Linked DNA regions of Homo sapiens: regions 1, 2, 3, 4, 5 and 7 are each linked to region 6. Evidence: promoter capture Hi-C in 16 types of primary human blood cells and fetal thymus (Javierre and others, 2016). All regions are on one chromosome and are shown on one strand. The core of a region is centred on a gene start or on the middle of the fragment in contact, and the rest is flanking DNA. Distances in the headings are between cores, read along the strand shown.

Region 1 (3,872 bases), core at 1,048-3,547, 1.2 Mb before region 6:
TCAAGTTTGGGACAAGTTTTAAGAAACTGTGTTACAATTCAGAGAAAAGACAGTTGGTGAGCATATTAAGAGATATAGGGAACAGATTTAGATGATCCAATATGCTTATTATCAGAATTCCAGAAAAAGGCATGAAATCATAAAGAAGACAGAATACCAGGCAAAATTAATGAAAAAATATTAATCCAAACACATATAATAAAAAGTATCAATTTCAAGAATAAAAGAATTATATAAGCATTTAACACACATAAACATTGGTTACCTGTAAAAGGTGAAAAAAAAAAACAGGTTCAGATTTTCTGCTTAAATATCAAAGGGCAAATGGAACATTTTTACGATCACCTAAAATTCTTGAAATAGGCCAAGATTTTTCATATACAAAGGCAACAGCCTTCTTGCCACAACTAAGTTCAGTGTACAAGGGTGCATGGACTCTTCCTGAAAGAAATTACTAGAAATAGGATTCTGTATGATAAGAGATTAATCTACTGAAGATCTTAAGAATGGGAAAGATGTGATATGAAAGAAATGGTGGTAAGCAGTAAACCAGTAAGACTCAGGATGAATGTCAAAATAATTGTAATTTTCTGAAACAACCAGAAAATCTTAATTATTAATAGAAGTTACAAGAAAATGATCTGGACTTAAAAGTCCAGGAGGTTAAGATAGTATAAAAAGTATATATATGCAAACTCTGTTAAAAAAAAAAAGTAAAAGATATGTTCTGCCTTTAAAAAATTGGTGGACCTATTGGCCGGGCATGGCTCATGCCTGTAATCCCAGCACTTTGGGAAGCCAAGGTAGGTGGATCACTTGAGGTTAGGGGTTCGAGACCAGCCTGAGCAACATGGTGAAACCCCGTCTCTATTAAGATACAAAAATTAGCCAGGTGTGGTGGCACATGCCTGTAATCCCAGCTACTTGGGAGGCTCAGGCAGGAGAATCGCTTGAACCCGGGAGGCGGAGGTTGCAGTGAGCCAACATCATACCACTGTACTCCAGCCTGGGCAACAAGAGTGAAAATCCATCTCAAAAAAAAAAAAAATTGGTGGAGAGATATATACTGAAATGTGAGTTGTTTAGAAGTGATGAAGATGTATGTGGTTTTTTTTTTCGCTTGTTTTGATATTTTGTTGTTTTTTTTGTTGTTGTTTTTCTTGCTATGAGCATGTACTGGCCTTGGAACAAGAAGACAAGCCAAACATTAAAAAAAATATGATTTTTAAGGAGATGTTAATAGGTATTGTTACAGGTTATTGGTATTAGTGACCTGATGTGATAAGTGGGGAAGGTCCTATGATATTGGCGGCAGTTGGCCTTGTAATGATGGCTGAAGAATACAGGAGTAAGTGGGTGCTGACAGAGCTGGTGTGCATAAAAGGAGGCCTAGTGGGAGAAGACTGATTCACTTGTTCTGGGTTTGAGCCCTGTAAACTGCTGTAATGAGGCTCTTTGGCTAAGTGGTGGCAGTGGCCAGCTGCAGGAATTGTGTAGGATTGGGAAAATGGGGGTTGCCACCTACAGTGTTTTTGTCGTTGTTGATGTTTATTTCACTCGAGGCCCTTTTTCAGTAAAGTCATCACCTGGCCTTGGTCCTGTGGAACTGGCAGCTGTCATTGCTGGACCAGTGTGCTTCGTCTGCATCTCACTCATGTTGATGGTCTATATCTGCCACAACCGCACTGTCATTCACCATCGAGTGCCAAATGAAGAGGACCCTTCATTAGATCGCCCTTTTATTTCAGAGGGTACTACGTTGAAAGACTTAATTTATGATATGACAACGTCAGGTTCTGGCTCAGGTAACATAATTGTTTCTCCTTTTTCCTAAGACATCTTTTTAAAATTAAGCGATACTTATTTTATTAGTTTTCTAATAAGCCAACTTGCTAGAATGTGAGATAGTATAAATAATATTGCAGGTTTGAACCTAATAAAAATCTTTAAGCTTGATGTATATATGACTGTGGCTGGTTTAAAATAGATTGGAACTTAACTTTAACTGTTAAAGCGAATCAATAAGTCAGCTCCATGGTGGTATAAATTTCAAAGCGTTCTCACTTGTATAATCTAATTTGCTTTTCATCACTGTGAGGTAGAAAGGATAAGAACAATTATTCTCATATAGATGAAGCTGAAGGTCAAAGATATTCACATGATCTGCAGCTAACCCATTCTATTCAGGATTGTTTAGCAGCTTGATGTTTACATTTGAAAACAGGCATGACAGAAATGTATTCAGAATTGTGAAGGTTATTTACTTTTTAAACATTATATGAAATTGTCTTTCGTATAGGCCTGGTTTTTTAAAATTAAACTAATGAACTCTTATGTCATTTTCTCACTTGAGAAAAATGTCTAACCACCTTCTTATTTAATGTAGTTTTGGCCCCTAATGACGTTTTCTTTTCTCAGTTCTATTTGTTGATATTTGTGGCATCAGAAGTAGATGAGCTAATTGTCAGAGTCATCCCAAGGTGGATTTTGGCATAGCAGTGCTTCATGTTTAAACTGAAAGGGGGTTATCTTTTACTTTTTCTTGCATGTGGTTTGGAAAAATATTAAGAGAGGAACACTCCTATCCCCTGTGTTTTTAGAATTTGACACTTGGTGAAGAATAAATAGATCTAGGTTTCAAGGCAAGCTTTGTCATTGATTGGCTGTATAACCTTGGTTAGAACATGTTTCCTCTTTGGGCTTCTGTTTCCTCATCAAAAATATGGAACCCATACTGTTGATAAAAACACTTCAAGTGGTTTGTTAAGACTTTTAAATGAGATGTACTATCCTTTGAAAAGTATGAGTCATCTTCAAATAAGGGCTAAATTCATGAATAAAGTGAAAATTTGTAAAGCGTATATAATGAAAATTTCACTAATTTTGGTGAAAGCCCATCTCTATTAAAAATGCAAAAAAATTAGCCGGGCGTAGTGGCATGCGCCTGTAGTCCCAGCTACTCGGGAGGCCGAGACAGGAGAATCACCTGAACCTGGGGGGTGGAGGTTGCAGTTAGCTGAGATCGCACCACTGCACTCCAGCCTGGGAAACAGACTCCATCTAAAAAAAAAAAAAAAAAAAAATTTTCACTAATTTTATAATTGAGTGATATTAAAGGAATGTTAAAGCAGAAGTTGTGACTGGGTAAGAATATAATTCTGAAGCATAAAATCACATCTAATGTTGCAGAAAGCTCATATAATGACAAATGTCTATTTATTTTAAGGAAATGAATATATATTGGTATGTATGCATATCCATTCATTTAAGAATGAAGAAACTGATTTTATTACCTGAATTATTCTTCTATAGAATTTGGCCATATGTATTCAATAAGAGAGCTCTCTCCTTGACTACTAGGACACACACAGGCTCGCACTGGAGCTCACGTCCCAGAAGGCAAGCTTAGGGATTCCTGAAACAGTTGTGCAAGGAAGACAATGAGAGTTTGGACTTAGATGAAGCAGTCTTAGTACTGAAGGTGTGATAGTCTTTAGGCAGGCCTGGTGGACAGAGGTTATTTTAGAGCTTTCCTGGGACTTCCCATTTATTCTCAGTTCAGATCTTCAAAAAGATTTTGCTCATTCTGGAAGTCATCCTGCTCAAAACTGTGATAATCAAGGACCAGAGTCACAGAAAATCAGGATGGCTACAGATATTTGGAATTAATCCCTCAAACCTGTTCTCTTGTTTCTAAACTTATACTCCGGAAAGACACAGCACTCATGCCACTTGCCACAGTGGAATAAGCCCACCTAACTGATTAAAGGAATTGGTGGGTGGGTGGCAGTTGATTACTGGATAAGAATATCTTCATTAACCTTTTAAGATATAAACATGAGAAACAATGGAATAATTCTGTTTCCATTATA
Region 2 (3,973 bases), core at 522-3,021, 1.4 Mb before region 6:
TCTTCTGGAAAATATCAGTACTAAACACTGTGGTTTAGCCAAGTATATAAATATATAAGCACATACATATACATATACATATACATATATGTATATATTATGTATGTCATAATCATTATTACATAACATGAATATGTTATATATATAATAATGATACGATATCTATACTCATACTTTTTTTTTCTATTTTACACACGTAAAACCATATCAACAATGAACATTTATCAATTGCTTACTATATGCCAGGGGCTGTCCTCAATGCTTTATTTGCATTAACTTACTTAGTCCTTGTGACACACAGTACTCAAAACAACCCTATGAGGTAGGAATTATTGTAATTCCCCATTTCTAGATAAGGAACTTGAGGCAGAAGTTGAGCGACTTGCCTGCAGGTGGTGCCAGAGCCTGGAATGGAAACCACACATGCTTTGCCATGTATGTTGTTCTGCAACTTGTTTTTTCCCCCTCTTGACCCTGTGTCATGGTATCTGAACATCTTTCCAAGTTAGCTGGTGAAGAGATACCTCATTCTTTTCCAAGACTGCAAAATGTAGTTATTGATAGCAGAATGCCTGCTTCCTGTAGGGTCTGGTGAGATCCTGAATGACACACTGGAGGGGGTTCATTCTGTGGATGGTGACCCCATTACTGACAGCGGCTCAGGGGCTGGGGCCTTCCTTGACATTGCTGAAGAAAAGGTGAGTAGATGGTAAATTTCATTTGATTAGTCAGTAGTAGGCTTGTTTGCTTATTTCAAACTTGGTGATGATTTTACTGAGCACCAGAGAGAACCACAAGGGTTTTGGTTGAATAGCATCAAGATTGCTTCTGTCCTCATGGTACAGAGGAGGTCAGAGTCCCAGGGCCACAGAGGCTCTCCAGGGATGCACAGGACTGGTGGGGGATATGCAGTGCAAGCTTGTCCTCACACTTGCCTGTGATGAGCGAGCGTCCAGGCCTCACCAATGCAACCCCGCCCTCCTGCTCAGTTGTGAAGGCACATAGCTTTATCAGCCCTTTGAGTCCCCTTCAAGACAGAATCAGATTAACTGCAGGTGTGTTCATGCTATTGTTTGGTAATTGGCTTTTACACCTGCAAAGCCAGTTTTTGAAATGCTGGGCTCCCTAGGGTGCAAAATTAAAGCATAAATAGTTTTCTCACAATGGCCCCTGCTGAAAACCCACAACGCCAGCTCATTCCTTCCCTTCTCCTGGGATGAAAACTTAAGACAGTTCTCACAGCTCTCTCAGTCACTATCTGGTAACAGTCAATTTTCACAGATATTTAAAAGTCAAGCCCAGCATAATATCAAAAATTCAACAAAATTACAAACACAGTTTCCCCCCTTCTATACTCAGGCCTACTGTAGACTAGGAAACTGCCAGGAAAGGGAAGCATGGTTAGGGGTTTCCTCTCTATTTTCTTACTTCTCTCTCCTCCTTATCCTCATGATCTCCCCATCCTCTAGAGCTATTTTTAACATCTGCAGGGGCTGGCCCACCTGGAGAAATGGACACAGTTGTACTTGGCTGGTCAAATTGTGATCTGGGCTTTTGGTGTGGAAGATGCCTGATTGTTGGAACTCTCTCTTATGGGGGCTTTTGTGGTTCCTGGGAGGTCTTCCTGCAGGGGACCTAGGATCAAAATTCCATAGTTTGCCTTGTAACTTCTGCCCGGGCTTCCACCCCATACAGGTTGCCCAGATCTTCTGCGTGGCTCTTTGAGTACAGCCCATTTCAGCCAGCTCCCTTTGGAGAGATTTTATCTTGTCTATCTCCAGCAAAACAACTGCAGGACAAATACCCCTCCCTTCTCCATCCCCCTCCCCTCCTCTCCCCTTTCCCTCTCACCTCCTCCTTCCCTCCTCTCTCCTTTTATTCCCTCCCTTCCTCTCCTCTCCTCTCCTCTCCCCTTTTCTCCCCTCCCCTCCTCTTCCCACTTCCCTCCTTTTCTCTTTCTCCCTCACCTCCCCCTCCTCTCCTCTCCCCTTCCCCTCTCTTCCTTTGTCCCTCTCTCCCAACTCTGAATCTAAAGGGCTCCCTCCTTTCACCTTTTGTCTCCCTGGAGAAAATCAGACACCAGTCCCTGAGCCTCCCAAATTCCAGGAAATACATACCCAGCTCACCAAATGGTTTGGAGTGAGTAGAGGGGAGGAGAAGAACCGCAGTACACTGAAAATTCTTTCCAAAGGAATTCTTGCTCTCCAGGCACTCAACCCCAAAATGAGTCCTGTATGGTTTCTTACACAGCCTAGAGGTAGGAGATGGGCAGGAGCTGGTAGAACGGGTGCCATTTCCTTGTTTTAGCATGGGGAGATTACCTGATGCCTGTGAAATTGCACTTGCCCTTTGGGGCTTTAGCTGACGCTGAGTTAGAAAGAGTCTCATTTTAACATCCTGGGACCTCAACTTTCCTCTAACTGTTTTTTGAGACAGTAATTCTGCAAGGATTTAATATATTTTATGAAAAAGGGGCTCTGTGGTCAAATGACTTTGGGAAATGCTGCACTCTACATTCCTCTTTTTATAGATTCTGAGAAATCCTGCAGCAAGGAAATCTTTTTAACTTTGATTAGCCTGGTGTTTTTTGTAACCAAAAGAACCACATTTTTGCAATAAATAAACAAGCTTTGGGAAATGAAGATAGAACATAGTTTGCTGTCACCAGCCCCAAAGCTGCTCTCTCTTTCCATTTCTCCCATTGCTATGAAACCTTCAGAGAATCTGCCTGTGCATTCCCAAAGGAAACTGAGTCACAGGGAGAGAGAAGAAGCAGGAATGTCTCTGTCTCCCAGCCTAGAGAAGGCTGAGGAGGACAGAGGTGCTGCCTACACATTTCTGAAGCATCTTCATGGGCAAAGACATTGTCTAATGCCTTCTGGATGGGTACATGGGGAGGTCACAGGGAGGCAATGGGTTTCAGTAGAAGTATCTAGAGCTAGACCAGGCTGACTCAGGAGCAGTGATTTCCGTGTTAATGGAGGTGCAAACCAATACTGGGAATCAAACACCAGACATAGGTGCCTGGGCAGTCTTTCCCATCCCTGGATTTATGAAACCATAGATGTGAAAGTCCTTGAGAGAAAGAAGCTACAGAAATGCAGGTGGCTGGAGAAGGCTAGGCAGTCTGTTCTCACCAGCCACAGGCATGTTGATGGGAGCCCAGAGACATGGTCTCTTGTGATGCCTTTGTTTTCAGAATTTAGCAGCAACAGCAGCGGGGCTGGCCGAGGTGCCCATCAGCACTGCTGGAGAAGCAGAGGCCAGCAGTGTGCCCACCGGGGGACCAACCCTCTCTATGTCCACGGAGAACCCAGAGGAAGGGGTCACTCCAGTAAGTAGCTCAGAGCGCAAGCTCCCCTTCACCTGTGTCTGGGGTTGTGGGTTGTGTTGGGTGGGAGCAGTCACTGGCTTTCCCTATGTGTCTGTGAAACACAGTGACAGTCTCATGGGGGCAGTCTGTCGGAGTAAGCACTAAATAGCATTGACCCATTCAGTGGCGGTGTGCAGAGCCCTACACTGTGCTGGGCACTAGGCCTGGTTTCAGGGATGGATAGTAAATAGGATAGACGTGATTCCTGAAGACAGGGTGGTAAGAGGGGCTGTGGTCAGTGGTAGGTGAAGCACAGGATGCCCTGGGAGCACTGAAAAAGGGGCCCAGAGCCCAGACTCGGGGGCACAGAAGTTTCCTGGGGAAAGGATGCTGAAGGCGGGCCTGAGAGGGTAAGTAGAAGTCGCCTAGCAGAGGGGGTGGAACAGGTGTTTCAGCAAGGTGGGCTGGCAGGAGCAAAGGCCTGAAGCCTGAAGAAGGGCAGCATACCTGTGGGGTCAAGCGTGAGCCAGGGGTCGGGGAGAAATGGCTGGAGAGGCTCTAAGGACACAGAGAAGATTCAGCAGAAGTGGGGAGTCACTGAAGGGTAAGAAACAAGGAATGGATGTAGCCAGATTAGAATTCCAGAAAGATCACTCTGAC
Region 3 (3,718 bases), core at 1,002-3,501, 1.2 Mb before region 6:
AAATAGCATTTACCATATTGTGGTTATACAAATATTAATCACTGCAGAAAAAAGTGTGATAAAATCTATAGAGAAAGAAAGAATATTCCATGTATTTAATACCAGCCACACAGCTGTCAACATTCAAATCTTGGTCTTTTAATGTAGTTTTTACTTTCCTCACTTTTATTCAGGTATCATTGTTTTTTATTTGCTTCAGTCTCATTTTTTTGAAATCTCATTCTTTCATTCCCTTTGTTTTGCACAAGTACTTCCGTGAGTAATTTTTACATTCGAGTGCACACGTGATAAACTTTCCTTGCATTGCTGGAGTATAATTTCAGCTCAAATTCATATTCCATTGGAGTTTTTTTTCTTTTTTCTTTTCTGAGACAGTCTCACTCTGTCACCCAGGCTGCAGTGCAGTGGTGCAGTCTCAGCTAACTGCAACCTTCACTTCCCAGGTTCAAGTGATTCTTCTGCCTCAGCCTCCTGGGTAGCTGGGATTACAAGCACGTGGTACCACACCTGGCTAATTTTTGTATTTTCAGTAGAGATGGGGTTTCACCATGTTGCTCAGGCTGGTCTCGAGCTCCTGACATTAAGTGACCTGCCTGCCTTGGCCTCCCAAAGTGCTGGGATTATAGACTTGAGCCACCATACCCAGCCTCCACTGGAGTTTTAAAGGCATGATTTTTAAAGCATTTCTGATGGGAAGTCTGAAATTAATTAAATTCTCATTTCTAATATTCAAGCTTTTAAGCCTTTCTCATTCTTCTTGGGGTTCTGAAATTTCTAAAAATATCTAGGTATGGGTTTTGTTTTCATTTATCCTGCTTGGTACTTAGTGGCCTCTTTCAATCTGAGGACTTGTATTTTTTCCCAGCTCAGGGAAACTTTCTATTATGTCTTTGACTTTATCCCCCACCACCTCTCTGATTTTTTTTCTTACCTTCTGAAACTCCTACTGAATTGATGGATGCTAGCCTCCTGGAGCTTTCCTGTTTCTAGACTTTTAGTTTTTACTATGCTGACTTTTTTCTGTATTTCTGGAGATTTCATTGACTTCCACACAACTGCTCTGGCTTTTGGTCTTGGCCATTCTATTATTCCTGTTTGCTGAATTTTTAAAATTTTGACCCTTATTTTACATTTCTAGAAATTATTTCTTGTTCTCCGATGGCTCCTTTTTTACGGCAGCTGGCTCTTGTTTTGGAGATTTCATTCTCTCACATCTCTCCAGAGATACTAATTAGGGTTTTATCTTTAACATTACCTACTTCATCTTGTTTTTTTTTTCCAGGATGACGTTGTGTTTACTCATGTTTGTTCAACTTGGTTGTGCTATTGGTTTTCCTCAAATATTTGGGGCTCCATGGCTCTCCGTCGACTTTCCTAAATGAAGGATTAGATTAATCTGTATGGATAGCTGGTGTGGCCTGCTTTCACAAGAGGCGTCTCCCTGGAAGGGGAGGGCCAGTTCAGGTCCCCTTGAGTGGCTGGGCCATATTGTCAGCAGGCTCACCTCTAGATTGCAGCAGGCAGCCTGGGATGCCCACGCCTGCCAAGGTAAGGAGGTATTTAAATAACGGACTGGAGTATTTAGCTATAATTTCCTTTTGGACAGAGGACTTTCTACCACCCCTCCATGCCTTCTGATATGGTTTGGCTTTATGTCTCCACCCAGATCTCATCTTGAATTGTAATCCCATAATCCCCTCGTGTCCTGGGAGGTACCTGGTTGGAGGTAATTGAATCATGGGGGCGGTTTCCCTCGGTGCTGTTCTCGTGATAGTGAGTGAGTTCTCATGAGACCTGATAGTTACAGGGGCTTCCCCCTTCACTTAGCACTCATTTTCTCTCTTGCCACCAGGTGAGGAAGGACGTATTTTCTTCCCCTTCCGCCATGATTGTAAGTTTTCTGAGGCCTCCCCAGCCATGCTAAACTGTGAGTCATTTAAATCTCTTTTCTTTATAAGTTACCCAGTCTCGGGTATGTCTTTATTAGCAGCGTGAGAATGGAGTAATACACCCTCTCAACCCAAACTTGCCATATATATTTGTTGGGGAGGCCTACATAGACTTCCAACCCTGTTCTTGTTCTGCTTCTCTCTTGACTTTAGACACCTATATTAGGATCCCTTCCTGGATAGATCACCCACATTTTTTAAGAATAATGATTGGGTCCTAGGTACCCAAAGGGCAAAATTACCACTAGTTGTTCCTTTACGGGTTGAGCATATGTTGAGCAGGGGAAGGGAGAAGGGAGGGGCCCCGAATGTCCCAGCCACTGTGAATGCAGCTCTTTGCTCAGTTACTCTGATGGTTATCCTATGGTCTACTCTTGCTTTCTGTCTCTTGTTTCTGAGTTTGGGGTTTCTCTAGGGCTCCCTTGAGAAGGAAAGTTCTTGGTACTGGTGTTTGGGGCTGTGGTTTACCTTTGTACTTTCTCAGTTGATCTGATCCCATCTACTTTTTCTTTTCTTTTCTTTTCTTTTTTTTTTTTTTTTTTGAGACAGAGTCTTGCTGTGTTGCCCAGGCTAGAGTGCAGTGGCACCATCTGGGCTCACTGCAACCTCCGCCTCCTGGGTTCAAGCAATTCTCATGCCTCAGCCTCCCAAGTAGCTGGGATTATAGGCATGCGCCACCACACCTAATTTTGTATTTTTCGCAGAGATGGGGTTTCACCATGTTGGCCAGGCTGGTCTTGAACTCCTGACCTCAGGTGATCCGCCCATCTTGGCTTCCCAAAGTGCTGGGATTACAAGTGTGAGCCACCGCACCCAGCCAATCCCATCTACTTTCTAGCTTCCAGTATTTTCTCAGACTTTCTCATCTGCTGGCACCCTGTCTTGCTTTCCAGCACTGATCTGATTTCACTCTTTAAAAAATATATTTTATCCCCATGGATCCATGGTGTAGTGGAGAGGTGGATGCATGTGCTCAATTTGTGACTTCCAAACTAATATATTTTTCAAACTTAATTTTTTTTCCTAATTCACATGGTTCAGAAGATACTGAAAGGTCTATCAAGAGGGTACAGGAAAAAATTTTTAAAGGTACTAAAAGGATATATAAAGTGAAAATGTCCCTTTCATCCTATCCCAGATAAAGACTACAGGTTGTCCTCTTATATTTATTCTGCCCTTCTTTCTTTAGAAACAAAATCTCCAATTTTAGCTATACTCATGAATGCTCAGCTAAGGAGGGCGTTTCCTAGTTGTGTCCAAGTCACTGAGTTCTGGCCAGTGGGAGGTGAGTGGAGGCCATGTGCTTAACGTTCAGTGGCTCTCCTAGAGGGCGTGGATGTGCCTTTCACTTTCTTTACTCCCCCTTTCTTATTGGCTGGATTGCAGAGGTGATGGTGAGCCATCCTCCTCCCTGCAGAGGAAGGCAACACTGTAGTGATGGCAGAGCCACACAATGGAATGATCCTGGGTCCCTGACACTTCGTCACCATTATACCTGCCCTGCTTTGTGAGACAGAATTGAAATGCTATCTTGTTTAAGCCTTGCATTTTGGGGTCACTTCTTATGACAGACAGCCTAGTCTGTCTGCTAATTGATATAATCTCTGGGCTATTCAGCTCACCTTCCTGGAGGCAACCAATGTAACCATATTGCTGGATTCTTCCAGGGATATTTCATGCATAAACTAACAAATGCATACAGGCATGCATGCATGAATGCATTCATATGTACATAAACACATATATCCAACCATGCATGTAGCCCCCTC
Region 4 (3,671 bases), core at 298-2,797, 1.2 Mb before region 6:
GCTTGACAGCTCAATCTATTTTGCAATCTCTGGGAAGCAGCCATGGCCCCCCAAAGCCTTTGTTTTCCTGTAAATAAACTGTGTTGGGGACCAGGGGACAATGATGCATCCTGTGGTGATTGACACCAGCCACGGCTACTAATCAGGATGGGACTTCATTGCCAGCTGAGTCGAGTGCATTATGGGGCCATTGTTCCAATGCTGCCAGGGCAAGAACACACACAGCCAGTCACCTTCACAAGATGGGTTGATTGTTCTTCAAGATTAGACCGAGTTGCCTTATTATCCATCCCAGACAACAAGGCATCTCACCCAAACAGACGCATTTGCAGGAACAGCCAGCACACCGGCCAGATTTGAATTGCTAATGTATAATCTGCCCGGCACAGATGTGCAATGAATATTTGGATGTTGTTTTGCCCGTCAGTTGAGGAGGATGAATTGATGAGGTGATGAGTATTCAATGATGGGTCCTGGATGTTGGCCAACAGCAGAGGTTGAGCACTTGCATGGATGATCATCAGATTACCCCCCAAAGTGCCTGTGCCATAATTCAGCAGCAAATTCTAGGACAGTCTAGCAGAGTGTACTTCTGGTTGGTGGAAAGTTCCCTTTCTTTTCTGGTACAATTAGATGTTTCGCTGTGTTTTTCAGGCTTAGGAAAGATATAGAAGTTGCCTTTATTGCCCTTCCCTGCCAACTCTTAAGGATATGAATAATGGTTCAGGAGCTAACTACTTGGGTTTCAATTTAGCTTCAGCATTTTCTAGCTCATTTTCTTAAGTTATTTGTGCCTCTGTTTCCTCATTTGTTAAAACAGATTGAAAAATTCTACCACCCATCTAGAACTATTGTGAGGATTAAATCAGATAATGTACACAGACTAAGTGCTAGAACAGTGCCTAGTGCATAGTACATGCTGAAAAGATGTTACCTGTTACTGTATTGTTGGTCATTTGCTTTCTCTCAGTATTACTGTGGTCAAGTAGCTTGGATACACTGGAAATAAAATTAATCCATTTTCATTACCTCAGGAGAGCTCATGGCCTATAGTATGCTACTTTCCCTGGTACATTTCTGATAGAAAATGTACCTTTCCTATAGGAATGGAAGTTTTCCTATAGTTATATAACCATGGAGCCCTTTTTCCTGAAGCATTTTTTACAGCTTATTTTCCTTGGAACATATTATAGGAAAAGCAGCTCTAGAAGGTAAACATTTACAAAGTTTTGAAAGAAAAACATGTGACTCAAGAATTTTATATATAATCAAGCTATTTATATGCAAGACAATGGGAATTATACAAATGCATATATTCTCTCTGAAAAAATGTTATTCAAAGATGTGTTCCATAGAAAGGGAACAATGAATCTAAGGTAGAAACCAGTGAGACCAGTTGATTGTACTGAAGTAAGTCCAAACAACTGCGGCAAATATATTATCAAACTTGAAATAAAAAAATTAAAATATTTGAAAGAAATTATTTATATTGAAATAATGGGATAATGAAATACATCAATGAATAGCAGAAGAATGAAGAAAATCAGAAGGGAAAGCAAGTGTCCTTTTTAAGAAAAAAAAGGATGGTACAAAGAATATATACACATATACACATATATATTATGTATATATGTATTACACTTGTGTGTGTAGATACATACAGTGTACACATATACAGGTGTGTATATATGTGTGTGTACATATATACAGGTCTGTATATATGTGTATATATATGTGTGTGTGAGTATATATGTGTGTATATATATGTGTGTGTGTATATACACACACAGGTGTAATAAGAGCAACCTCAGTAATCTTTAATAAAATATTAAAAACCAATACTATAAGAAAAAACACTAAATCTAAGATTTCTCTATTTATTAGACAAACCAAAAAATATTCAAAATTAAAATATGGGTAAAATATGATTATTTAACGTGAACAAAGAGAAAGTCAGGTCTGAGGATATTAGTATTGAACAATGCAGAATTATGTAAGTCAAAGAGTATTAAACTGCTAATTTCATTTCTTTATCTTCAGTGCTATGCACAGGGTAGGTCCTAAATATATATGAGTAAGATTTATTGTGGAAGTAGAAGCAACGAGTGAAAGGTATGTGAGAAGGCATGATTTGCCTGCAAGGACCTCTTGAGGGTAAGTTTAAAAATAAATTTATTGACACACAATATTTGTACATATTGACAGTGTAACATGACATTTTGTTGCATGCATACAATGTGTAATGATCAAGTCAGGGTATTTGGGGTATTCACCATCTTGAGTATTTACCATTTCTTGGTGTTGGGAACATTTCAGGTTATCTTCTAGCTAATTTGAAATATACAATACATTGTTGTTAACTATAATCACCCTACTCTGCTATTGAACATTAGAACTTATTTCTTCAATCTAACTGTATATTTGTATCCATTAACCAACCTCTCTTCAACCCTCCGACCCCCTCCCAGCCTCTGGTAACTATTTTTCTACTTTATCTCCATGAGATCAATTTTCTTTTCTTTTCTTTTCTTTTTTTTTTTTTTGAGACCGAGTCTCGCTCTGTTGCCCAGGCTGGAGTGCAATGGCAGGATCTCGGCTCACTGCAACCTCCGCCTCCTGGGTTCAAGCGATTCTCTTGCCTCAGCCTCCTGAGCAGCTGGGATTATAGGCACCCGCCACCACGCCCGGCTAATTTTTTTGTATTTTTAGTAGAGACGGGGTTTCACCATGTTGGACAGGCTGGTCTCAAACTCGTGACCTCAGGTGATCCACCCACCTCGACCGCCCAAAGTGCTGTGATTACAGGTGTGAGCCAGCCCACCCAGCTGAGATCAACTTTTTTAGTGCCCACATATAAGTGAGAACGTATTTGTCTGTCTATGCCTGGCTTATTTCACCTAACATAATGACTTCCAGTTCCATCCATGTTGCTGCAAATGACAGGACTTCATGCTTTTTTATGGCTGAATAGTATGTCATTTTGAATATATACACCACATTTTCTTCATCCATTCATCTGTTAATGGACATGTTTCAAAGACTTCATATCTTTGCTATTATGGATAGTTCTGCAATAAACAAGGGGGTGCATGTATTCCTTTGACATACTGAGTTCCTTTCCTTTATTTATTTATTTATTTTTGGGGGGACAGAGTCTTGATCTGTTGCCCAGGCTGGAGTGCAGTTGAGCCATCTTGGCTCACTGCAACCTCCACCTCCTGGGTTCAAGTGATTCTCCTGTCTCAGCCTCCGGAGTAGCTGGGACTATAGGTGCATGCCACCAAGCCCAGCTAACTTTTTTATTTTTAGTTGAGACGGGGTTTCACCATGTTGGTCAGGCTGGTCTCGAACTCCTGACCTCAGGTGATCCACCGGCCTCAGCCTCCCAAAGTGCTGGGATTACAGGCATGAGCCACTGAGCCTGGCCCAGATTTCCTTTCCTTTGGATAAATAGCCAGTAGTGGGATTGCTGGATTGTATGGTATCTCTATTTTTATTTTTATTATTATTTTAAAAAATCTCCATACTGTTTTCCATAATACTTGTACTAATTTATATTCCCACCAACAGTGTATGAGTTCCCTTACTCTGCATCCTCGCCGGCATCTACTTTTTTTTCTTTCTTTTTCTGTTTTTTTTTGTTTGTTTGTTTTGTTTTTTGAGATGGAGTC
Region 5 (3,728 bases), core at 9-2,508, 1.2 Mb before region 6:
GCTCACCCAGTGACTCTAAAGTAGTGCACAAATTGGCATTAATCAGAACCATTCTGATTCCTGCTATCAAGGTTTATTTAATTCTAAGCTCAAATGACACAGAAAATAAAATTTCCTCCTTAAAAGGTTCTGCGGAAAAATATTCTCTGTTCTACGTAACAGCCTCCTTGGCTGTGTTTGTGTCTGAAGAAAGGACTAGTCTGACAGGAAGAATTACAAATCTGGAGCTCATTTTGGCGTCGCAGAGGGAAGGTGGGTGGAGCGTCTCGCAGTAAATTAGGAATTCAGAATGAAAACGTAGAGTTTATTTGGGTTTTTAGTGACACCTCAGGATTATTATACAGCAGTGTCAGACACAGCTCAAAGTAATGATGACTGCTCCCCCTCCGCCCCGCGGGAGCTGGGTGCTAAGAAGGGGGAACCCCTCCTTTGAGGGGTTGGGGTGGGGATCCTCCCTTTCCAACCTGGATCGGGAAGGGGTTTGAGAGGAGTGCGGCTTGGATCCCCATCCTGGATCTGTGCTGGAGGGAGGCGGGAGGCTATTTGGGGGTGTGTTTGGGCTCAGGATCTGGGTCTGACGCTGGGATCTGAGGACTTTCTGGGTTTGGAACTGGGTGGGGGAGCTGGGTTTGGGGTGACCGCTGGGAGCAGGAGGAAATAGGAGAGTGAGTCGCATGTGAAGGGCACTGAGGAGGGATCTTCGGGGGAATGCTGAAGTTGATGCGTGGACTTGGAGAGGGGAAGTTGAAGTGGATGCAGGGGCCTGGCGCTGCAGCGGATCTGGGTGGCATGTGCTGGGATTGCCAATGCGGAGCTGTGAATGGGGTCAGGGTGGGGCTGAGGCAGTACCAGATCTTCCGCGCCTAGAGGAGGTTAGAAGAAAAGAGCGTCGAACGGCCACAGCCTTTTTCCGAAAGAGACTCACACAGACACACCCATCGCTCTACCCGGCCCTCCGGGGCTAGCGGCTGAGCGGTGCTGGGGCTGGCAGACCCCGCCCCCACGCGGCCTCTCGGAGCCGGGAGCCGATCGGGCCGGGGCTGGGGTCTGGCGGCCCAGCCCCCGGGGAGCGTGGGGCGTGGCCAGAAACCGGCGCTCGCGGCTGCGGATTGGCTGCCTGGCGGGCCCGCAGGCGGGGCTCCCGGCTGGGTCCCGCTTGGCAGCTCGCGGCGGCGGGGAGGCGGGGCCGGCGGGAGCCCGGCAGCCAATGGACGCGCGTCCTCCGAGCAGTTACAAAGGGCCGGAGCGAGGCCGCCGCGGCGGCTAGGGAGGTGGGGCGAGGCGAGGTTTGCTGGGGTGAGGCAGCGGCGCGGCCGGGCCGGGCCGGGCCACAGGCGGTGGCGGCGGGACCATGGAGGCGGCGGTCGCTGCTCCGCGTCCCCGGCTGCTCCTCCTCGTGCTGGCGGCGGCGGCGGCGGCGGCGGCGGCGCTGCTCCCGGGGGCGACGGGTGAGCGGCGGCGCGGCGGGCGGGCGACTGCGGGGCGCGCGGGCCGGACCCGGCCTCTGGCTCGCTCCTGCTCTTTCTCAAACATGGCGCGGGGCCGGGGGCGCAGGTGGCGGCGCCGGGGCCCGGGCCGGGCTCTCGTGGCGCCGCGCGGCTCGGCGGCTGCCGGGCGAACCGCAAGCGGGGAGCGGAGGCGGGGCAGGGGCGTGTGTCCGGGCGCGGGCGGACGTGTCCGGCTGCCCGAGGCCGCCCCGCTCGGGACTCCCCGGGGAGGTGGAGTCGGGCGGAGTCGTCCGAGGTCCGGGGCTGCCCTCTGGGGTGTGAGTGGGCGAGGGCCAGGGGCGGAGAGTGCGAGGCCGGCGGGGACTGGCAGAGCCGTGGCTGCCCGCCGCCGCCCCCTGGGCACGGCGTGACCTTGTTCTGGGGACCCCCGCCCCAAGAGGGTCCGTGCCAGAGGCTGCCGAACCCGGGGCGGGGTTTGAGGTTGGGGTGGAAGGCGGCTCCCGGGCGGGGTGTGAGCTCCGAGCCTCTAGGGCTTCGTCCAGTGGGAGTCGGGGGCGACGTGTGGTGAGACCCCTGGGTCCGCAGGCCGCCCTGACTCCCGCCCGGCTCGACCCGAGCCGACCCTGCTGGAAGGGGCTGCTCCTCCAGCCAGGGGGGCTTTGTGTGAGAAGAAGGAAGCGCGGAGATGCGCGGAATGTTTCTTCTTTCGTGCGTCTGGGGAGTGTTGAAGTGAGTCCAGTAACCAGACGGCTACGGATTGTTTTCATAGTGGAAACTTGAACGTTTGCTCATTCTGCGGGTTTTGGAAATTTTGGGAACGACTGTGAATTGATTAAACGCTTTTTATTTCCTCGAAGGAACATCACTCACGTTGTTCCTTTTCTTGAGTGACAGTTAATAGTTTGATTCAGACATCTGTATAGCTGGTTTTCAAGGAAGACTGTTGGCTGGATTTTTCAAAATAGTAAATCAGGTTGGGGTAGGTGGTTGGTATCCACAAAGGGATGAGTGAAAAACTTCGTTAGCAGCTGAACTGAGACACTAGAAGCTAAAATACACAGCCTCAGTGTTAGCAACTAAAATGCAGTGAAAGTACATTTCTGTTTCTGAAACTGGACAAAAGATGTTGAAATTTTTTTAAAAAATCAAGACTGACGGTGACGATTATAATCAGTCCTAATAGCTACCGTCTATGTATTGTGCATTACTACGATGTAAATGCATACACTATTGTATAATTACATTATTTAATCACCACAAGTAAACTCCCAGGAGTAGTGGCATTTGCCCCACTTTACAGATGTGCAAAGTGGGGTACAGACACGTTAAGTACCCAATAACTTAAGTGCTAAAGCTAGGATTTTCACTCAGATCTCAGTTTCCCAAACCTGTATGTCATATATATATATAAATATGTATACATCATACTATCTGGCGTAGCCCATTTTTCTTCTTCAGTCGTCTGATGAGCAATTGGTCTTTATTATCCACTTTGGATTCTGTCCTCATGATTTGAGTATCAGATAGGCTTCATTCCGACTCTTAGCACATTGTTGAGTCCCTTCACGTGGGCCTGCATTAGAGGAAACAATGGATTTTTGACATTGGCCTAGGGAGGAAGGCAGGATAACTGTGTGGACATTTGGGAGAATCAGTATAGTTAGGCATGAAACACAGGTAACATTTCCACACCGCTATTAACTTGAATAACACAGTGCACTCTTTTCCACCAGAAGTAGCACAAGAAGCGTTCATGTATTCAAGTAACAGTAGTGGACTTAGTTGAAGACACAGAACATTGCTCAGTCCATGTCCTGGAGGAGTTTACAGTCTCCATGGTATGCACAAAATACAAAGCTGTCCAGGTGCTTATTACTCTAAGCCCAGACTGCCTCAGCTTGTCTGCCTCCCCTGTTGGTTATGATGATGCCTCAGTCCACCCTTAAAAAACATTCTGAAAAAGGTCAAATGCTTTTTATTTCCTCTGTAACTTGGCTTCCCTTTTAAAGACTTGCACCTTTTTATGTTCTGAGTATGTTTTAATGTTCTCTGCCCAACTTCTGTCTCCAACATAGGTTTCTCTAGGGAAATTGATTCCTTATCCCTAGTGCACAGTTTAGTACCACTATGTCTATATGTATATCCCATCTGAGAATGCTATTTGCTTCCTTTCTGCCATTTCATAACTTTTTTTCTTTGAAAACGTGCCCCCAATCCAACTCTTCTATGAATGCCTCTTGAATGTCTCCTCCTTTCTTGGTATGCAGCCTTCAGCTTAAT
Region 6 (3,721 bases), core at 327-2,826:
AAAACAAAACAAAACAAAAAAAAAAGCTGGGGGTCGGTGGGTGGGTGGGTGGGAGGGAATAAGGCCTAAAAAGAAGGCCATGATACTCACCTGGCCTCTTTTAATACAAAAATGGTTTTCATTAATTAAGCAAGCACACTTTGTGAGCTTTTCCTACAATTTTATTACTAGCTGGTACTAGACACGAAAGTAAATGGTACAGGACATTCAGAAAAATTAACTCCCTTCCTCCTCCACTCCTGTGGGTTCTATTTAGCCATTAACCACCTGATAGATCTTCAACAGTCTACTGTCAACTTCATGCCATATTATCTATCGCTTTGTATTAGTCACATTAATGCTTTCTCTGTTAGGAAAATTAAGAAGGCTGATTGACCTTCCTTGACTTTTCAAACCTAGTAATATTATTACGGGATACAAAGCATTTTCATGCGAAGAACTCTCAAAGTTCTACTAGTAATTGACTTTAACTTATAACAAAGATTTTCATAACACAGCAAATCAAAAAGTCCCACTAAGCCACTTTTACAGTAGCCGGTTTTTAGCAAAAGGTAGGAACGCCAGTCTCAGAGGAGGAGCTCACATCACTAGTCCTTAGGTTTGCGATCCCCAATAGTTTCAAAGCTGAATGTCACACATTCCTACTGTAGGTCTTTTCTAATTCCAACAAAAGGCAGATCCTAGCGTTTTTAGGATTTCAATCGAACTAAATTCCAACTATAAATAGTTTGCCTGCCACCTTCTTACCCTTCCTCATTTCCACCTTCTTTTCCAAAAAAAATCAGAGAGAACGATCGTACTGCACTCGGCCTTTGATAATTTCCTCCCCAAACCCTTAAACTCATGAGTTCCTCCAAACTCCACTGAGGGGCCAACCAGAGGCGACAGACTTCCCAAAAAGCAAATGGCCCAGGCAGGGGCGACCCCAGAAAACTGGTAGTCCCCTTCCGCTCGCTTAACTCTCCCGCCTGGGCGACCAGAGGACGGAACAGGGGACGCCAGCTCATCCCCACTCCGTATTCGGTCCTGCATCCATCCCAGAGGCGAACACACCATGGGTTTTAGGAAACCATCGTTCCTCCTACTCCAAGGGACGCCGGCCAGGACCAGAGTCGGGGAAGTGGGGCCCGATTCACACACTCCGGGCTAAAACTCTCTCGGACCCGAAACCAGGCGAACCCGCCCAGTCACCTGAAGCTCCGCAAACGCCCTAGGGGGTCCCGCCCCCGCAGTGCCGGCCGCACACCCAGGCCCAGCTCGGAGGGACGCCGCGGCCCAGACCCGGGGGACGCAAATCGTGCACGGCCGACCCTGCCCGCTTGGGCCGCGGATCGGGGGGCGACGGCCCCACCACGCTCAGTCCCGCGCCCCGGGAGGACCCGGCCCGACGGGCGACGGCCGCTTACCTGAGGACCCGGCCGCGGCCGGGGCGAGAAGCCCGAGAAGACAAGCGAGGGAGCAGAAGCCCACGGGGCAACAGCGTGCGCCGCCGACCTCAGGCTCTAGCTCCCGGAGCGTGTTTTCAAATAGCCTCGTCCTCACGCGGCCGCGTCTCCTTCCGCCGCCCGGAAATCAGGGCCCCTCCCCCTCCCTGCTGTGCTCACGTGATCGCAGCCCGCAGCCGCGCGCAACCGGGGAGGCGGGAGCGGGAGCGGTAGGCCCCGCCCACAGAGGAGGGTACCCCGCCGGAAGCCCCCTGCTCTGTGGGAACCGGAGGGAGGACAGCGCGAGGTCCCCGGACAAAGCGTGGCGCATAAGTCCGGCCCGTAACTTGGTGGGCAGGCAACTTAGGGGATGTGGGCCTGGTTATAGCTGAGCATGCTTTTCTATTCCTCCCAGACCACAGTTCTTCAGACCTGGAGCCACTTTCAGAGAAGAGTATAAGTTGCACTGAATTGAAAAAGGGAAAAGTTTAGGACTGCAGAAGATGGAATTCCTGGGGACGTTAAACTGGGCTAAGATGGAGCAGATAAGATTTCCTTAATTAGAGCAAGACACACCTAGTATCTAGAGCCTGGAAGTCTTGGTCAAGGATTCTCCCTAACATCTCAGTTTCTCAGCACTAACATTCCTGCTACTAAAATGAAGTGAGAAATTAATTTCTGAAGTTAAGTAAAGAAATAAACTAAAATTCCTAGAAAAGAGGTAAGAAGAATGAGCCTTTGAAAAATGTCTTCACAAAGACTGGCATGATGGCATGGAAGAAAGAGCCCCAGGTAAGGACTTCAGACCTTGATTCAAATTTGTGTCTACACCTCACCAGATAATTAAGACTTAGTAAAGCTAGCGAAGATATTGACCCTCATTATATTGGGTGGGAATTCAAAGGAATGATGTCTAAATCCAGGGAGACCCAAGCACTGGAACTAAAACCATGCCTGTTCCATAATCGGAGATAAAGAGGCAGCGCTAGAAACCCTGACCTCCCTTTGCTGGCAATATGGCCACATCACCACAATCTGCCTGGAATCGACCATAACCATAAATATTTGGGAGTCATTGGCATTATGTGGCATTATATTCTGTTTAAAGCTATGAGACTAGATCAGAAGAGGAAAGATTTATTGCCAACCAGACAAGTCCCTGGAACTCCAAACTTGTATCCAACAGTTTTTTCAATGTTTCCTTCAGATATCCAGTATACATCTCAAGGTCAACTTGTCCAAAACAGAGCTACTGATGATTTTCCCCTTGAAATCTACTCTTCCTACAGCTTATTCATCTCAAATAGTAAGTCTGTCCTTGCAGTTACTCAAGCAGAAACCTTTGGGTTTTTGGTTTGGCCTCTTTGTTCCACACCTCACATCTAATCCATCTGGAGATTGACTCTACCTTTAAAGACATCCTAACTTTCACCAGTTAACACACCTCCCCTGCTACCATTCTGGTCCAAGCCGCTTCTTGATCACTGCAAAAAGCCTGCAAACACATCTTCCTGCTTCCCTTATTGTCCTTCTTCCCCCTACAGTCTGGTATCAGCAGAGCAGCTGTGTGATTATTTTAAGATCTAGGTTAGATCAGATCACTCTTTGGCTCAAAACCCTTTAATGGCTCCCTATTTCACTTCGAGTAAAACCCAGAGTCCTTTCTAGGGCCTTCCCTTAGGCTGTTCTTGCATGGCTATAAAGAAATACCTGAGACTGGGTAATTTACAAAGAAAAGAGGTTTAATTGGCTCATGATTCTGCTGGCTTTACAGGAAGCATTATGTTGGCATCTGCTTGCTTTTGGTGAAGTCTCAGGGAGCTTTCAATCATAGAAGGTGAAGGGGGAACAGGCATGTCACATGTTGAAAGCAGGAGCAAGAGAGAGAGCAAAAGAAAAGAGACAGAGAGAGAGAGAGGTGCCACACATTTTTAAACAGCCAAATCTGATGAGAACTCACTATCACTAAACAAGCACCAAGCCATGAGGGATCCACCCCCATGACCCAAGCATGTCCCACCAGGCCCCACCTCCAGCATTGAGGATTACAACACAACATGAGATTTGAGCAGGGACAAATATCCAAACCATATCAGTTCTCAAGCTCTTCCATATTCTGACACAGTCTCTTACCATCTGAGCACTCCTCCTTCCACTCTCCCCTTTTTTACTCTGCTCCAGTCACACTTGCTTCTTTGCCTTCCTCAAACACCAGTGACACACTCCTGCTTTTGGACCTTTTCTTTAGCTTTTCTGTCTGCCTGAAACACTCTTCCCCAATAAGTCCATGTGGCTAA
Region 7 (4,186 bases), core at 984-3,483, 1.2 Mb before region 6:
TAGCAGTCAAACCAATGTTTAAAAACAGAATAATTTGGTTTTCATATTCAATTGTAAGCACATTGAAAGGGCCATGGAACATTTGCAGTGGCCTTTAGTGTATCAGAACATAGTTTAGATCTGCCGGGCGAACTAAGGCACATATTTTTAAATGAATGCCTCCCTTCAGCCGGGGCAACCCAGAACACTAGACAGTTACCGGACATGAATGAGGAGCCCTGTATTCTAGACCAGCCTGGCTACCATTTCAAGGGTCTGACTCTGAACAAATCCCTTTAGTTCTCTGGACTTTAATATCCCTTTGCAAGGTGAGGAACTCAGATAAGGTGATTACAAAGGTGTTTCAAATGATTTTCCGTTTTATTCATCTGATTGCCCAGATAACCGTTAACCAGGAATTTAGGGAAAATGCTTTTTTCCAGCAGTATCTGAGCTGCTCAACTTCAGCTCTAACAAAAAGTTTTAGAAACGTTTTTGTAATTGTAAATTTAAAGATTCGTAAGATGAATTTTATTTAACCTCTCCTTAATTGCTAGCTGTTACTATTACAATATTGGTGAAGCAGAGCATATTCCTCCAGGTTTGAAGATTTGTAGCTTAAAAAGGCTATAAAAAGCTGTTCAGTTCAGTAGTTGATTTTACGTCTTAAACTATTGTAGGACTCAGCAGAACCTCTGATAAGCAAGAGAGCTTGCTACCTCCAACAAAATCACATCTCCAGGCCCAAATAAATAAAATGTATTTCAGCATGCTTAAGGAATTTGCATGTGACATAGTTTAATAAATGAGAGTGCTGCTAGATTTTGTCTTTTAGAAATTTGATCTACTTGGGAGGCTGAAGTGGGAGGATTGCTGGAGCCTGGGAGGTCAAGGCTGCAGTGAGCTGAGGGCATGCCATTGCATTCCACTTTGGGCGGCAGAGTGAGACCCTGTCTCAAAAAAAAAAAAAAGAAAGAAAAATTTGATGTGAATACTTCAAAGTACAAACTTAAAATTTCAGTGTGAGGTCAGATTTCTTCTTTGCTTTGCCCAGCTCTGGTTTAGGATTCGGCCTTTTCAGGTTTGCTAAATGAGTCACTCTTTGTCCACCTGCTTTCCAGCACTGGCACCAGTACCCTATTGATGGAAATTTATGTAATTTCTACTCATTTGCTATTACAAATAATGCTTAAACAATAACAAGTGTATATGTCATTTAAAAAGAAAATTTACACGTAAAAATTCTTATCCAGACCAATGGAAAATGGTGCATGCATTAATTTTTTTTTTTATATTTTCTTGTAGGCCTTGAGAGTAATGGCTAAAATTATGAGAGAATGTTGGTATGCCAATGGAGCAGCTAGGCTTACAGCATTGCGGATTAAGAAAACATTATCGCAACTCAGTCAACAGGAAGGCATCAAAATGTAATTCTACAGCTTTGCCTGAACTCTCCTTTTTTCTTCAGATCTGCTCCTGGGTTTTAATTTGGGAGGTCAATTGTTCTACCTCACTGAGAGGGAACAGAAGGATATTGCTTCCTTTTGCAGCAGTGTAATAAAGTCAATTAAAAACTTCCCAGGATTTCTTTGGACCCAGGAAACAGCCATGTGGGTCCTTTCTGTGCACTATGAACGCTTCTTTCCCAGGACAGAAAATGTGTAGTCTACCTTTATTTTTTATTAACAAAACTTGTTTTTTAAAAAGATGATTGCTGGTCTTAACTTTAGGTAACTCTGCTGTGCTGGAGATCATCTTTAAGGGCAAAGGAGTTGGATTGCTGAATTACAATGAAACATGTCTTATTACTAAAGAAAGTGATTTACTCCTGGTTAGTACATTCTCAGAGGATTCTGAACCACTAGAGTTTCCTTGATTCAGACTTTGAATGTACTGTTCTATAGTTTTTCAGGATCTTAAAACTAACACTTATAAAACTCTTATCTTGAGTCTAAAAATGACCTCATATAGTAGTGAGGAACATAATTCATGCAATTGTATTTTGTATACTATTATTGTTCTTTCACTTATTCAGAACATTACATGCCTTCAAAATGGGATTGTACTATACCAGTAAGTGCCACTTCTGTGTCTTTCTAATGGAAATGAGTAGAATTGCTGAAAGTCTCTATGTTAAAACCTATAGTGTTTGAATTCAAAAAGCTTATTTATCTGGGTAACCCAAACTTTTTCTGTTTTGTTTTTGGAAGGGTTTTTGTGGTATGTCATTTGGTATTCTATTCTGAAAATGCCTTTCTCCTACCAAAATGTGCTTAAGCCACTAAAGAAATGAAGTGGCATTAATTAGTAAATTATTAGCATGGTCATGTTTGAATATTCTCACATCAAGCTTTTGCATTTTAATTGTGTTGTCTAAGTATACTTTTAAAAAATCAAGTGGCACTCTAGATGCTTATAGTACTTTAATATTTGTAGCATACAGACTAATTTTTCTAAAAGGGAAAGTCTGTCTAGCTGCTTGTGAAAAGTTATGTGGTATTCTGTAAGCCATTTTTTTCTTTATCTGTTCAAAGACTTATTTTTTAAGACATGAATTACATTTAAAATTAGAATATGGTTAATATTAAATAATAGGCCTTTTTCTAGGAAGGCGAAGGTAGTTAATAATTTGAATAGATAACAGATGTGCAAGAAAGTCACATTTGTTATGTATGTAGGAGTAAACGTTCGGTGGATCCTCTGTCTTTGTAACTGAGGTTAGAGCTAGTGTGGTTTTGAGGTCTCACTACACTTTGAGGAAGGCAGCTTTTAATTCAGTGTTTCCTTATGTGTGCGTACATTGCAACTGCTTACATGTAATTTATGTAATGCATTCAGTGCACCCTTGTTACTTGGGAGAGGTGGTAGCTAAAGAACATTCTGAGTATAGGTTTTTCTCCATTTACAGATGTCTTTGGTCAAATATTGAAAGCAAACTTGTCATGGTCTTCTTACATTAAGTTGAAACTAGCTTATAATAACTGGTTTTTACTTCCAATGCTATGAAGTCTCTGCAGGGCTTTTACAGTTTTCGAAGTCCTTTTATCACTGTGATCTTATTCTGAGGGGAGAAAAAACTATCATAGCTCTGAGGCAAGACTTCGACTTTATAGTGCTATCAGTTCCCCGATACAGGGTCAGAGTAACCCATACAGTATTTTGGTCAGGAAGAGAAAGTGGCCATTTACACTGAATGAGTTGCATTCTGATAATGTCTTATCTCTTATACGTAGAATAAATTTGAAAGACTATTTGATCTTAAAACCAAAGTAATTTTAGAATGAGTGACATATTACATAGGAATTTAGTGTCAATTTCATGTGTTTAAAAACATCATGGGAAAAATGCTTAGAGGTTACTATTTTGACTACAAAGTTGAGTTTTTTTCTGTAGTTACCATAATTTCATTGAAGCAAATGAATGAGTTTGAGAGGTTTGTTTTTATAGTTGTGTTGTATTACTTGTTTAATAATAATCTCTAATTCTGTGATCAGGTACTTTTTTTGTGGGGGTTTTTTTTTTGTTTTTTTTTTTTTGTTGTTGTTTTTGGGCCATTTCTAAGCCTACCAGATCTGCTTTATGAAATCCAGGGGACCAATGCATTTTATCACTAAAACTATTTTTATATAATTTTAAGAATATACCAAAAGTTGTCTGATTTAAAGTTGTAATACATGATTTCTCACTTTCATGTAAGGTTATCCACTTTTGCTGAAGATATTTTTTATTGAATCAAAGATTGAGTTACAATTATACTTTTCTTACCTAAGTGGATAAAATGTACTTTTGATGAATCAGGGAATTTTTTTAAAGTTGGAGTTTAGTTCTAAATTGACTTTACGTATTACTGCAGTTAATTCCTTTTTTGGCTAGGGATGGTTTGATAAACCACAATTGGCTGATATTGAAAATGAAAGAAACTTAAAAGGTGGGATGGATCATGATTACTGTCGATAACTGCAGATAAATTTGATTAGAGTAATAATTTTGTCATTTAAAAACACAGTTGTTTATACTGCCCATCCTAGGATGCTCACCTTCCAAGATTCAACGTGGCTAAAACATCTTCTGGTAAATTGTGCGTCCATATTCATTTTGTCAGTAGCCAGGAGAAATGGGGATGGGGGAAATACGACTTAGTGAGGCATAGACATCCCTGGTCCATCCTTTCTGTCTCCAGCTGTTTCTTGGAACCTGCTCTCCTGCT

Evidence for each region. Contacts are between HindIII fragments. The CHiCAGO score rates a contact against its expected background, and 5 or more counts as called.
Region 1: a contact is called between a fragment that was not itself captured here and the fragment with the promoter of TEX10 in region 6, in 1 of 17 cell types (total B cells). The highest score is 7.8, in total B cells.
Region 2: a fragment that was not itself captured here is called in contact with the fragment with the promoter of TEX10 in region 6 in 1 of 17 cell types (fetal thymus); the score reaches 6.1 in fetal thymus.
Region 3: a fragment that was not itself captured here is called in contact with the fragment with the promoter of TEX10 in region 6 in 3 of 17 cell types (fetal thymus, M0 macrophages and total B cells); the score reaches 7.8 in fetal thymus.
Region 4: a contact is called between a fragment that was not itself captured here and the fragment with the promoter of TEX10 in region 6, in 1 of 17 cell types (M2 macrophages). The highest score is 7.6, in M2 macrophages.
Region 5: the fragment with the promoter of TGFBR1 here is called in contact with the fragment with the promoter of TEX10 in region 6 in 2 of 17 cell types (neutrophils and monocytes); the score reaches 7.8 in neutrophils.
Region 7: a fragment that was not itself captured here is called in contact with the fragment with the promoter of TEX10 in region 6 in 7 of 17 cell types (total B cells, naive B cells, fetal thymus and 4 more); the score reaches 13.0 in total B cells.

What each region holds. Positions count from the first base shown.
Region 1 is chr9:99,130,935-99,134,806 of GRCh38, forward strand. It overlaps TGFBR1 (transforming growth factor beta receptor 1), which reads left to right. Exons shown (of 9, transcript NM_004612.4): 3 at 1,575-1,805. Among named protein-coding and RNA genes, the nearest start is that of TGFBR1, 28 kb to the left of the region's middle. The HindIII fragment of the contact is 696 bases long and covers 1,950-2,645 here.
Region 2 is chr9:99,000,254-99,004,226 of GRCh38, forward strand. COL15A1 (collagen type XV alpha 1 chain) reads left to right here. Exons shown (of 42, transcript NM_001855.5): 7 at 586-698; 8 at 3,200-3,334. Among named protein-coding and RNA genes, the nearest start is that of COL15A1-AS1, 58 kb to the left of the region's middle. The HindIII fragment of the contact is 1,710 bases long and covers 917-2,626 here.
Region 3 is chr9:99,164,028-99,167,745 of GRCh38, forward strand. No RefSeq gene overlaps it. Among named protein-coding and RNA genes, the nearest start is that of ALG2, 56 kb to the right of the region's middle. RefSeq lists an enhancer at 3,120-3,414. The HindIII fragment of the contact is 3,039 bases long and covers 733-3,718 here.
Region 4 is chr9:99,201,395-99,205,065 of GRCh38, forward strand. No RefSeq gene overlaps it. Among named protein-coding and RNA genes, the nearest start is that of ALG2, 19 kb to the right of the region's middle. RefSeq lists an enhancer at 1,872-2,041. The HindIII fragment of the contact is 5,389 bases long and covers 1-3,671 here.
Region 5 is chr9:99,103,855-99,107,582 of GRCh38, forward strand. TGFBR1 (transforming growth factor beta receptor 1) reads left to right here and starts at 1,259. Exons shown (of 9, transcript NM_004612.4): 1 at 1,259-1,448. The coding sequence starts at 1,352. RefSeq lists silencers at 787-1,386, 1,477-1,986. The HindIII fragment of the contact is 12,693 bases long and covers 1-3,728 here.
Region 6 is chr9:100,351,366-100,355,086 of GRCh38, forward strand. TEX10 (testis expressed 10) reads right to left here and starts at 1,577. Exons shown (of 15, transcript NM_017746.4): 1 at 1,407-1,577. It overlaps LOC105376177 (a long non-coding RNA gene), which reads left to right and starts at 1,685. Exons shown (of 4, transcript NR_188642.1): 1 at 1,685-2,216; 2 at 2,632-2,730. RefSeq lists enhancers at 816-865, 1,270-1,904 and a silencer at 1,206-1,755. The HindIII fragment of the contact is 13,255 bases long and covers 1-3,721 here.
Region 7 is chr9:99,147,896-99,152,081 of GRCh38, forward strand. TGFBR1 (transforming growth factor beta receptor 1) reads left to right here. Exons shown (of 9, transcript NM_004612.4): 9 at 1,285-4,186. The coding sequence ends at 1,410. Among named protein-coding and RNA genes, the nearest start is that of TGFBR1, 45 kb to the left of the region's middle. The HindIII fragment of the contact is 187 bases long and covers 2,141-2,327 here.